Linked DNA regions of Homo sapiens: all the other regions are linked to region 1. The links are contacts of gene promoters, found by promoter capture Hi-C in human tissues and cell types (Jung and others, 2019). All regions are on one chromosome and are shown on one strand. Each heading gives the region's core, a stretch centred on a gene start or on the middle of the fragment in contact. The rest is flanking DNA. Distances are from core to core; before and after follow the strand shown.

Region 1 (3,779 bases), core at 564-3,063:
AAACTGGAGGTGGTAATTCTTAGTTGAGTCATTTTACCTAGGGGACCACGGTACAGCGATAAGTCACTCAATTACTACCTTATGATTGACAGTTCACACTGGAATCAAAGGTGAATTCATGGGAGTAGAGGTGAGATATCGTTAGGCAAGTCTACAAAGAGAGATAGATGGGCATTTATTCATCACGCTGAAGTGAAACTACTGCACAATATTATTACATCAATAGCATATATTTACTTTTGTAAGTTACACGTAATGCATCTCTGATAAGATAAATCAAGAGGGCTCCGGGGAGGTTAGTTTACATTTCAGCAGTAGTTTCGTGAATAATGCTAAATTAAGAAATATATAAACCTCACCGACATGTTTTTTCTCACCTTCTTGTAAGGAGCCTCAAGCATTGCTTCAATATCAATATCGTCTGCCATTTTCTCTAAACGCCTAGGAAGAGAACAAGACAATTTCTTGAGTAAACATTTCTCTTACAATGTGAAACAAGTTTCACTCTTGTTGCCTATATCGTCTAACATTTTCTCTAAACGCCTAGGAAAAGAACAAGACGATTCCGTGAGTAAACATTTTTCTTTTTTTTTTTTTTTTTTTTTGAGACGGAGTTTCGCTCTAGTTGCCCAGGCTGAAGTGCAGTAGCGCGATCTCGGCTCACTGCAAGCTCCGCCTCCCAGGTTCCAGCGATCCTACCACCTCACCTCCCGAATAGCTGGGATCACAGGCGCCTGCCACCACGCCCGGCTAATTTTTGTATTTTTGGTAGAGACGGGGTTTCACCATGTTGATGAGGTTGGTCTCGAACTCCTAACCTCAAGTGATCCGCCTGCCTCTGCCTCCCAAACTGCTGGGATTACAGGCGTGAGCCACCGCGCCCGGCCTGGTAAACGTTTTTCAAATCGACTGAATTTTTCTTCTCAGCCGACACACTCGAAAACTTAAGAAAAACCTCCAAAAGCCCTACAATTAATGACTAAAGTGACATGCACTTTAACCAGGTTTGGCTTACGTAAGTAAATCCAAAACGCCTCTTACACGAAACACACGAAAATGAAGACTTCAATATCCAATATTTAAAACTCTGCTGTCAACTCCAAAAACAGAAACTGGGAGACCCGAACGAGAGCGCCTCTTTCCGGGCAAAAACCCGCGCTGCCATTTTAGGGGCAAAGAGAAACTCCCTCCATTGGGAGGGGTTATGAGCCAAGGCAGCGTTCAACTGGCGCCATGTTGGGAGGTCGCGGCCGGCCCAGGCCTCGAAGGAGACAGGTCACCATTCTACCGCGGCCTCTCGGGGGTCCCTACCGCCCCAAGAATCCAGACTATACCCGACTGGAAAATAAGGGCGCGGTCACTGAAACAGGGCCGATTTCTCGAAAACCACCCCCCACCCCGGTCGCTAAAGACCTCCAAAAGCGCCCCTCAGCCCAAAATGGAGCCAAACCTCGAGAAAGCTGAGATAATACGCGGGTCCGCAACGCCCCGTACCTGTTCCGGCCTTCGGGCGCCTGTGGTGCTCGTGTTCGGGAAGAGATTGCTGCTGCTGCTGCTGCTGCTGCCGCCGCCGCCGCTTCTGTTGCTACTGTTAAGCCCCTAGGCCCAGGCCGCGGAACCGCCCAGCCCGAATATCGGGTTCCAAGGACGGCTAGGCCCGAGAGAATCTAAAAAAAACAATGGAATTAGAGAAGCCCACGCGGGAGAGCAGGACGGCGGCTTCGGCAGCTCAGGATCCACCCCTGCGACAGCGTCGACAAGCTCCCTGAAATGGCGGCCGCTGCTTCCCTGTACTCACATTCACCAGCACACATACACACACACAAACACACGGGGCCTCACAGAGCCCTCAGCACGGGCTCTCGCGAGAAGCTGCCCCAAGCTCCAAATTTGAGCGGCCGAAGTATCGCGAGACCTAAGTATGGCTCCGGCGACCGTAGCCCAATCTCGCGCAATGATTGCGCCACAGATATTCCCATCCCCCATTCAGTGAGGCGCCTTTCACTCCCCCTCCGCGTAAGCACCCAAATCTCGCGAGACAGAGCGGGTCTCTAGGGCAAAGACAGTTGGTAGGCTGCCTGTCAATCTTTCAGAGAGCTCTTCGCTGAGTGGAGCTCAGCGGTCACCTCCCCCTCGTGGCGCCTCCTCACGGCCATCTGAAGATTCCTCCGGCACAGCCGATCGCCCCCGCTCCGGCCTCCCACACAGATGGCTGTCAAGGTCGCCATAAGGCAACCTAGTCCTTATGGCGATAGGATAAAACGGCCATATTCAGATTATCCGCTGAGGGTGGAGAGGAAGTGGAAAAGTGTATCAGAAGGCCAGAAGAAGAGATCTTTAGGGGTAGGGGGAGAGGGGGAGATAATAAAAATAGATTTCCCTGTCATTTGGAGCCAATGGCGCGGCCTCCACTGTCGAGCTTTGAAACAACCTTGGAAATAGTGGAGAAAAGCAAAAAAAAGGTGGAAAAAATAAACTCTTGCTTCCCTTGGCATGGGATCAGTTTTGTGCCCCGAATTTAATCAGCTCTTGTGTCAGGGTTGCTACCGTTCCTTCAAAAATGTTCCCCTTCCTGAATATTACTGGACGATTTGGTGAAAAAATAAGACACCCCCCCAACAAAAAAAAAAAGGCCCCCTTCCCCCTGGGACCTGGCTCCTCTCCCCTGAAGTCTTCTAGATGCCAGGTAATTAGAGTATGAATTAGCCATTTGTTCTTTGGTCAGTACTGTGTGAGGTTTCCTCCTAGATGCTGGGAAAAAAAACTGGAAAGAAGTCTTCAAAGCAAAAATCTTACCCTCTAATCTTAACAGTCTAATGATTGAGGGCAGAAAAGATTGGAAATGAGACGCCTTGATTAGTGTAACTAGCTGCTGCAACACTGTGTGACCTTGGACAAGCAAATTAACCTCTCAGAGGGGATCTTTCATTTCCTGATTTAAAAGAGGACGTACTTAGTAGCTAGTCTAAGCTACTTGAGACTGAGGAAGGCAGGTAATGCTCAGTACTGAATTTTTAGAGGTTAGCAGGGCATGTCTGCCCAAGTGGACCCTCAGTAAATTAATGAATGAAGGCTCAGAAGGGCTATAGTGAAGATTAAATGATATAATGTCTGTAAAACGCCTGGTAAATATTTGATCTTCAAAACAGCTAACTTCTGTTTCTGCTAAACAAAATTATTTAGAGCAAATATAGATGTTAAGTGGTTTTGCCTCTCAGGTTAACTTTACACACAGGTTAGGATTTATCTTAGAGGATTATTAATAACAGTTATTTTGTAGTTAGAATACTCCCTTAATCCTTTTTCTGAAAATTCAGATCCTCTTTTTATTTTATTTCTGAGACAGTCTCGCTCTGGAGGCTGGGCGCAGTGGCTCATGCATCTAATCCCAGCACTTTGGGAGGCCGACGCGGGTGGACCGCCTGAGGTCAGGAGTTCAAGACCTGACCAACATGGCGAAACCCTGTCTCTACTAAAAATAAAAAAAAAACTAGGTGGCAGGCGCCTGCAATTCCCAGCTACTCGGGAGGCTGAGGCAGGAGAATCACTTGAACCTGGGAGGCAGAGGTTGCAGTGAGCTGAGATCATGCCATTGCACTCCAGCCTGGGTGACAGAGATCGAGACTCCATCTCAAAAAAAAAAGAAAGAAAAAGAAAGAAAAGAAAACTGTCACAGGAAATTGAAGCATAATATGTCAGAAATAAAGCAAGCTAACCTTTGCTATCTCTTCCTGCCCCTCGGTAATTCCAGTATTATGACTAGTGCAAAATGAAAGCAT
Region 2 (3,494 bases), core at 20-2,519, 170 kb after region 1:
TCTGTGTGTGTGTTGTGGAGGAGTGTGGGTGAAGGTACAACAGATAATATCCCTCCTTTGCTGAGATCCTTCCAGTGGCTCCCTAAATCACTCATAGTAAAAGCCAACTTCCTCACAGGGCCCTTCATCATGTTCTGCTGCTAGCCTCCATCTGCTTCTTTCCCTTACTCAACCTAATTCTAATTTCAGTTCCATTGGAGCCATACAGATCTCCTTGCTATTTCTTTATTTCAAATTCCAGTTATTCATTGCTGGCATATAGAAAAGCAATAGATTGTTGTATATTAACTTTGTGTCTTGTAACCTTGCTGTAAGTGCTGTTCTGGCAGTCTTTGTTTTGATCAATTCTTTGGGATATTCTACATAGACAGATCATCTGCAAACAAAGATAGTGTTATTTCTTCCATTTCAATCTGTAGAGCTTTTATTTCCTTTTCTGGCTTATTCCACTCGCTAAGATTTCCAGTAAAATGTTGAATAGGAGTAGAGAGAGAGGCACCTTGCTTTGTTCCTGATCTTAAGGGGAAAGCATCCAATTTCTTACCATTAAGTATGAAGTTGGCTGCAAAGAAGTTCTTTATCCAGTTGAGGAAATTCCCTCCTATTCATAGTTTGCTGCCCCATCAGCTTTTTAGGTTGGTGCAAAAGTAATTGTGGTTTTTGCTGTGACTTTCAGTGGCAAAAACAGCAATTCTTTTGCACCAACTGAATAGAATGTAGCTCTGTGAGGGACAGGGGGTGTTATCTGTCTTTGTTCATTGCAATATCCCTCCTCCCTAGAATGTGCCTGGAACATAGTATATGCATGGTATCTGTTGCCTAAATGAATTGAAACCATGGCTAATAATACGGTGGTAGTCAAACTGTGTAAAAATGAGTTTTGTTTTTATGTTTGGGGAAGACCCTGTTCTCAGGATCAATGAAAAGTAAAAATGACTGATAGCTTTTTTGAAATTCAGAAGGCATCTGACCATGTTTTGCCAGTCTGCTGTCTTTGGGCCTTGGGTTTTTGGTTTTAAAAATGAGTGCTTTTACAAATTGGTCTAAGTTCTCTCCAGCTTTCATGTTTGTTGACTTTCTTTCTAGTTGCAGGGTATTTTAAAAGTTAAGGAGCTCAAATACCCTTAAGTCCTATGTTCTCTAGCCAGTAGATCAACTCTGCCTATAGATTCCAGGCTTGCCAGCCAGTAGGCACAGCCCACTCTTCCTTTCTGATGGTTACCAAGTGCTAATTTGGGAGAGGGGCCTGGGTTGCAGAGGAGACATGGTGCTGGAGAGTCAGACCAATTTGCTTTTAAATACCTATGTGATGTCAGGTGGGTGATTTCACCTCTCTGAGCTTCAGTTTCCCGGCCTGTAAAATGGGAATGATATACACACAAGTTGTTGTAAGGATTAAATGAGATATTTGTGGTTTCCTTGCACACAAGTGCTTAGTTAAAATGGAATCTGATTGTCTACCCTGCCTCACACCTGCTTTGTGGATATCTTGATTCCATATCAGAATCACTTGGAAAGTTTTAAAAATCCTGATATCCTTGAAAACATCATGCTAAATGAAAGAAACCAGACACAAAAGGTCACATATTGTATGGTTCCATATTTATGAGATATCCAGAGTAGATAAGCCCATGGAGTCAGATGCAGGTTGGTGGGGCTGAGGGGAAGGGCTTAGGGGAGGGGAAATGCTGCTTAATGGTAAAGGGTTTTACTTTGGAGTGATGGAAATGTTCTTAGAACTATATCAAAGTGGTCGTACAACATTGTGAATGTACTAAATGCAACTGAATTGGTTGTTTTTCTTTACAGCTGTATCGAGACTTAATTGTACAATGAACTACACATATTTAAATGGTATAATTGGTGAGATTTGACATATGTTTATACCCAACTATCACCACAATCAAGATAGTAAACATATTCCATTCCCTCCCAAACTTTCCTCATGCCCCTTTTTAGTTCCTCCTTCCCACCTCTCCCCTCCCCCTGAGCTCCAGGCAACCACTATTCTGCTTACTGTTACTTGTGGTGTGTTTTCTCTCTTTTTTCTTCCCCCCCGAGATGGAGTCGCTGTGTTGCCCAGGCTGGAGTGAAGTGGCACGATCTCAACTCACTACAACCTCTGCCTCCTGGGCTCAAGCGATTCTCCTGCCTCAGCCTCCCAAGTAGCTGGGATTACAGGCATGAGCCACCACACCCAGCTAATTTTTGTATTTTTAGTACAGATGGGGTTTTATCGTATTGGTCATGCTGGTCTTGAACTCCTGACCCCAGCTGATCTGCCTACCTTGGCCTCCCAAAGTGCTGGGAGTGAGCCAGCATGCCCAGATGGTTTGTTTTCATTTTGCAGACTATTGTAGAAATGGAATCCTGCAGTGCGCACTTGTTTTGTCTGGCTCCTTTCACCCAGCATACTTTGAGATTCACTTATGTTGCTGTTCGTACCTTTTTTTCTATTTTTATTTTTTGAGACGGAGTCTTGCACTGTCGCCCAGGCTGGAGTGCAGTGGCCAGACCTCAGCTCACTGCAAGCTCCGCCTCCTGGGTTCACGCCATTCTCCTGCCTCAGCCTCCCCAGTAGCTGGGACTACAGGCGCCCGCTACCACGCCCGGCTAATTTTTTCTGTATTTTTAGTAGAGACAGGGTTTTACCATGTTAGCCAGGATGGTCTCAATCTCCTGACCTCGTGATCCGCCCGCCTTGGCCTCCCAAAGTGCTGGGATTACCGGCATGAGCCACTGCGCCCGGCCTGCTGTTCCTACCTTTATTGCTGAAAAGTCTTCCATTGTGTGGATACATCATGAATTATTTGTACATTCACTTGATGGACATTTGGGCAGTTTTCAGTTTGGGGCGATTACAACTAAAACTGCTATGAGTCTTCATGTATAAGTCTCTATGTGGACGTAAGTGATGCTTTCTCTTGAATGAATATGTTGTAGTGGATGGCAAGGTCATAGGATATATGTACGTATAAACTCTTGTTGATATCTAAAAAGTAAGGCATGGTGAATTACTTGAAATCCTATAAATATATTTGGTAAGAGAAGAAGAAACGACTGGATTTTTTTGTTTGTTTGTTTTGGAGACAGATTCCCACTCTGTCACCCAGGCTGGAGTGCAATGGTGCGATCTGGGCTCACTGCAACCTCCGCCTCCCCGATTCGAGCAATTCTTCTGCCTCAGCCTCCCAAGTAGCTGGGATTACAGGCATCTGCCACCACGCCTGACTAATTTTTATATTTTTAGTAGAGACGGGGTTTTGCCATGTGGGCCAGGCTGATCTCAAGCTCCTGACCTCAGGTGATTCACCTGCCTTGGCCTCCCAAAGTGCTGGGATTACAGGCATGAGCCACCGTGCCCGGCTACGACTGAATTTTTCTTTCTTTCTTTTTTTTTTTTTTCTTTGAGATGGAGTCTCGCTCTGTCGCCAGGCTGGAGTGCAATGACATGATCTCGGCTCACTGCAGCCTCCGCCTCCCGTGTTCAAGCG
Region 3 (3,751 bases), core at 34-2,533, 200 kb after region 1:
GAGATAACAAGAAAGCATTAAAATAAATGATAAAGCTTAAAGATTTTATTTAGGTAAACAGACTTTTGCATAGTATTTAAGATTAATCAAAATCCCTTTTTATGGAATCAACTCTTTATTTAAACACCAAGATAAACTAAGCTTTCTTTCTTTCTTTTTTTTTTGAGATGGAGTCTCGCTCTGTTGCCCGGGCTGGAGTGCAGTGGTGCCATCTCAGCTCACTGCAAGCTCCGCCTCCCGGGTTCACGCCATTCTCCTGCCTCAGCCTCCCGCGTAGCTGGGACTACAGGTGCCCGCCACCAGGCCCGGCTAATTTTTTATATTTTTAGTAGAGACAGGGTTTCACTGTGTTAGCCAGGATGGTCTCGATCTCCTGACCTCATGATCCGCCCACCTTGGCCTCCCAAAGTGCTGGGATTATAGACGTGAGCCACCGTACCCAGCCCTAAACTAAGCTTTCATAACCAAGTTTTAAAATAGGAATTTGGATGTAACATTCCTTTTTTAAAAAGCCGGCCTGCTTAGCTGGGTGTGGTGGTGCACACGTATAATCCTAGCTACTTGGGAGGCTGAAGCAGCAGAATCTAGGAGGCGGAGGTTGCAGTGAGCTGAGATCATATCACTGCACTCCAGACTGGGCAACAGAGTGAGACTCAGTCTGAAAATAAAAAATTTAAAAAAATTTAAAAGCTGACCTGGCGTGGTGGCTCACACTTGTAATCCCAGTGCTTTGGGAGGCCAAGGAGTTCAAGGTTACAGTGAGCTATGATCGTGTCACTGTACTCCAGCCTGGGTGACAGAGCAAGACCCCATTTCTTTAAAAAAAAAAAAAAAAAAGCCTAGTAAGCTATTATATGAAATATATATATATATATGCCATTGTTTTACAATTGGCCATTATTTAATTATTTATGTAGTTATATGAATAGTACTTTATTTATTTATTTATTTATTTATTTTTGAGACGGAGTCTCGGTCTGTTGCCCAGGCTGGAGTGCAGTGGCACGATCTCGGCTCACCACAACCTCCACCTCCTGGCTTCAAGCAATTCTCCTGCTTCAGCCTCCCGAGTAGCTGGGATTATAGGTGCACACCGCCATGCCTGGCTAATTTTTGTATTTTTAATAGAGACGGGGTTTCACTATGTTGGCCAGGCTGGTCTCGATCTCCTGACCTCATGATCTGCCTGCCTCGGGCTCCCAAAGTGCTGGGATTACAGGTGTGAGCCACTGCACCCAGCCTGAACAGTACTTTAAAACTAAAAGACAAAGGATATTTAATGACCATGAAAAGTAAAAAAGTCTTTTGGCATTAGAGAGATTATTTTCTTAAATAAAAAATGTTGCCTTGGTGAGCAGTGGTCTCTATACACATGATCTTAGTGTATTTGAACAGAATTTTTTCCTCTGTAACCTTCTGTCTTGCTAGCAACCACTATGCTAGTTGGAAGCTGTTCTGCATCTTTAAAAGAGACACTTGGGATGGTGCAGCACATGGTATGGAGAGGGTGGCCTGCTGGATGCTGGGGTCCAGAGGAGATGCTGTTGACTTCCCACAGTCCTGGCTTTGTTCTTCAGCCTAACAGACCTAGACAGACAGCTTCCATCTCAGGAACTCCACACACTCCTGTTAACCAAGCTCAGGCACTACTGAGTGGCTTAGACTCTTCCAGTCTGAGCGTTGGTGCGCTTTCACACTGTGCATGCCTCCTGGGCCACCGTAGTATCGGGATGTCTTTGGTGAGCCTGGAACTAGATCCAAGGTAGTTAGGGTGACCTTAAGAGGGGCCTCTCAGCAACTGTAGGATCATCTTGCAAAAGATTGACTGACTCTCTTTGCTGTTGGAGTGACCCATCCAGTCCTGACTGCCTTTTGTCCATTTATTTATTTTTATTTTATTTTATTTTTTTAAGACGGAGTCTTGCTCTTTCTCGCCCAGGCTGGAGTACAGTGGCATGATCTCGGCTTACTGAAGCCTCTGCCTCCCAGGTTTAAGCGACTCTTCCTTCCTCAGCCTCCCAAGTAGCAGGCAGATGCCTGCCACCACACCTGGCTGATTTTGTATTTTTAATAGAGATGGGGTTTCACCATGTTGGCCAGGCTTGTCTTGAATTTCTGACCTCAGGTGATCCACCTCCCTTGACCTCCCAAGGTGTTGGGATTACAGGCGTGCACGTCCGGCCTCTCCATTTATTCTTCTGCCTGTTTGCTGAACAGTCCCCTGTCTCCTTCTAGTTTTTTTTAAAGACTTACTGGTGTTTTGAAACTGGTCACTATCCAGTTTTCTTGCTCAGCAGGCCACTAGTTCCTCTCACATGACTGATCTTTTACTAATGGTTTTCAAGCTTAAGTCTGAGGAGGTGGTCTTATTTTTCTTATTTCCAAGTCCTTGTACTTGCTGGAATTAGGAAGAGAGAGGGTTCCTCCTTCTTGGAACCCCCAAATACCAACAAGAAATATGATGGAGGAGGATAAACTACATAGGGCCCAGAGCAATGGGTAGGGCGCTTTGCTGGACCACACATTCCTTCTCTCGCTGTGTTTGTTGCAGGCTTGCCACATTTCAGACACAGGTGAGTGTTAGGGATATAGTGGCAAGCAAGGCAGACTCAGCCTTTGCCCTCGTGGAACTTGATCTAGTGGGAGAGACATATATTAAACAAATCATCCCATTACCTGTAATGACAAACCATAGTAAATGCTCAAAGGAGAACATGTGATATCATAGCACCTGTAACACAAGGACCAGATTCAGGGTATAGGGTTGGGGAAGGCTTCCCTAAAGAATAGCTCACAAGAAACAGAGGATTTAGAAAGGTGGAGAGGAAGGTAGGGCTGCATCTGAGGACAGGAGAGGATTGCGCAGTAGGTTGCAGGCTGCTTGATGAAGAGGTACTGGGTGGGCCTTTCTTTTGCTGCACTCCAGGGTCCAGAAGGTGCTCAGTACAGGTTGGTGCATGGACTAGAAAGGCTACAGGCAGGCTGGGATAGCACAGGGGCTACCTGCAGGGGGTGGTTCTTGTCAAAGGTGCAGGGTTCCCAGATGGTCTCTCCCCAAATGCCAGAGCTTTAGGGGGTAGCTTAGGGAAGAACAAACATCTTTCTGTAGAGAAATACTTGTTCTCACAAGCAAGACAGCTTTCTAGATATTGAACCAATGATGATAATGTTAATTAATACCTGAAATCTTACATTAAATATTTAAAGGGGTCCTGCATGGTGGTTCATGCCTGTAATCCTAGCACTTTCAAAGTGGCCAAGGCAGGTGGATCACCTGAGGTCAGGAGTTCGAGGCCAGCCTGGCCAACATGATGAAACCCCATCTCTACTAAAAATAACAAAAATTAGCCAGGCGTGGTGGTGTGTGCCTGTAATACCATCTCCTCAGGAGGCTGAGGCAGGAGAATCGCCTGTACCCGGGAGGCGGAGGTTGCAGTGAGTCGAGATCATTGCCATTGTACTCCAGCCCAGGCAACAAGAGCGAAACTCTGTCTCAAAAGAAAAAAAAAGGCCAGGCCCAGTGGCTCATGCCTGTAATCCTAGCAGTTTGGGAGGCCGAGGTGGGTGGATCACCTGAGGTCAGGAGTTTGAGACCAAAATACAAAAATTCGCCGGGCGTGGTGGCACATGCCTGTAATCCCAGCTACTTTGGAGGCTGAGGCAGGAGAATCGCTTGAACCTAGGAGGCAGAGATTACAGTGAGCTGAGATGGCGCCACTGCACTCCAGCCTGGGCGACACAGTGAGACTCC

The links. Contacts are between HindIII fragments. The study calls those that stand out against the background at their distance.
Region 2: a fragment that was not itself captured here is called in contact with the fragment with the promoter of RBM39 in region 1 in 1 of the 25 tissues and cell types used here (bladder).
Region 3: a fragment that was not itself captured here is called in contact with the fragment with the promoter of RBM39 in region 1 in 5 of the 25 tissues and cell types used here (heart right ventricle, mesenchymal stem cells, pancreas and 2 more).

What each region holds. Positions count from the first base shown.
Region 1 is chr20:35,740,447-35,744,225 of GRCh38, forward strand. RBM39 (RNA binding motif protein 39) reads right to left here and starts at 1,814. Exons shown (of 17, transcript NM_184234.3): 1 at 1,495-1,814; 2 at 378-441. The coding sequence starts at 428. RefSeq lists a silencer at 1,194-1,293 and enhancers at 1,554-1,703, 1,717-2,402, 1,764-1,983, 2,154-2,253. The HindIII fragment of the contact is 31,582 bases long and covers 1-3,779 here.
Region 2 is chr20:35,908,591-35,912,084 of GRCh38, forward strand. The region is part of intron 10 of PHF20 (PHD finger protein 20); the gene reads left to right. Among named protein-coding and RNA genes, the nearest start is that of SCAND1, 44 kb to the right of the region's middle. The HindIII fragment of the contact is 7,158 bases long and covers 1-3,494 here.
Region 3 is chr20:35,942,678-35,946,428 of GRCh38, forward strand. All of the region lies in intron 17 of PHF20 (PHD finger protein 20), which reads left to right. Among named protein-coding and RNA genes, the nearest start is that of SCAND1, 9.9 kb to the right of the region's middle. The HindIII fragment of the contact is 3,743 bases long and covers 1-3,155 here.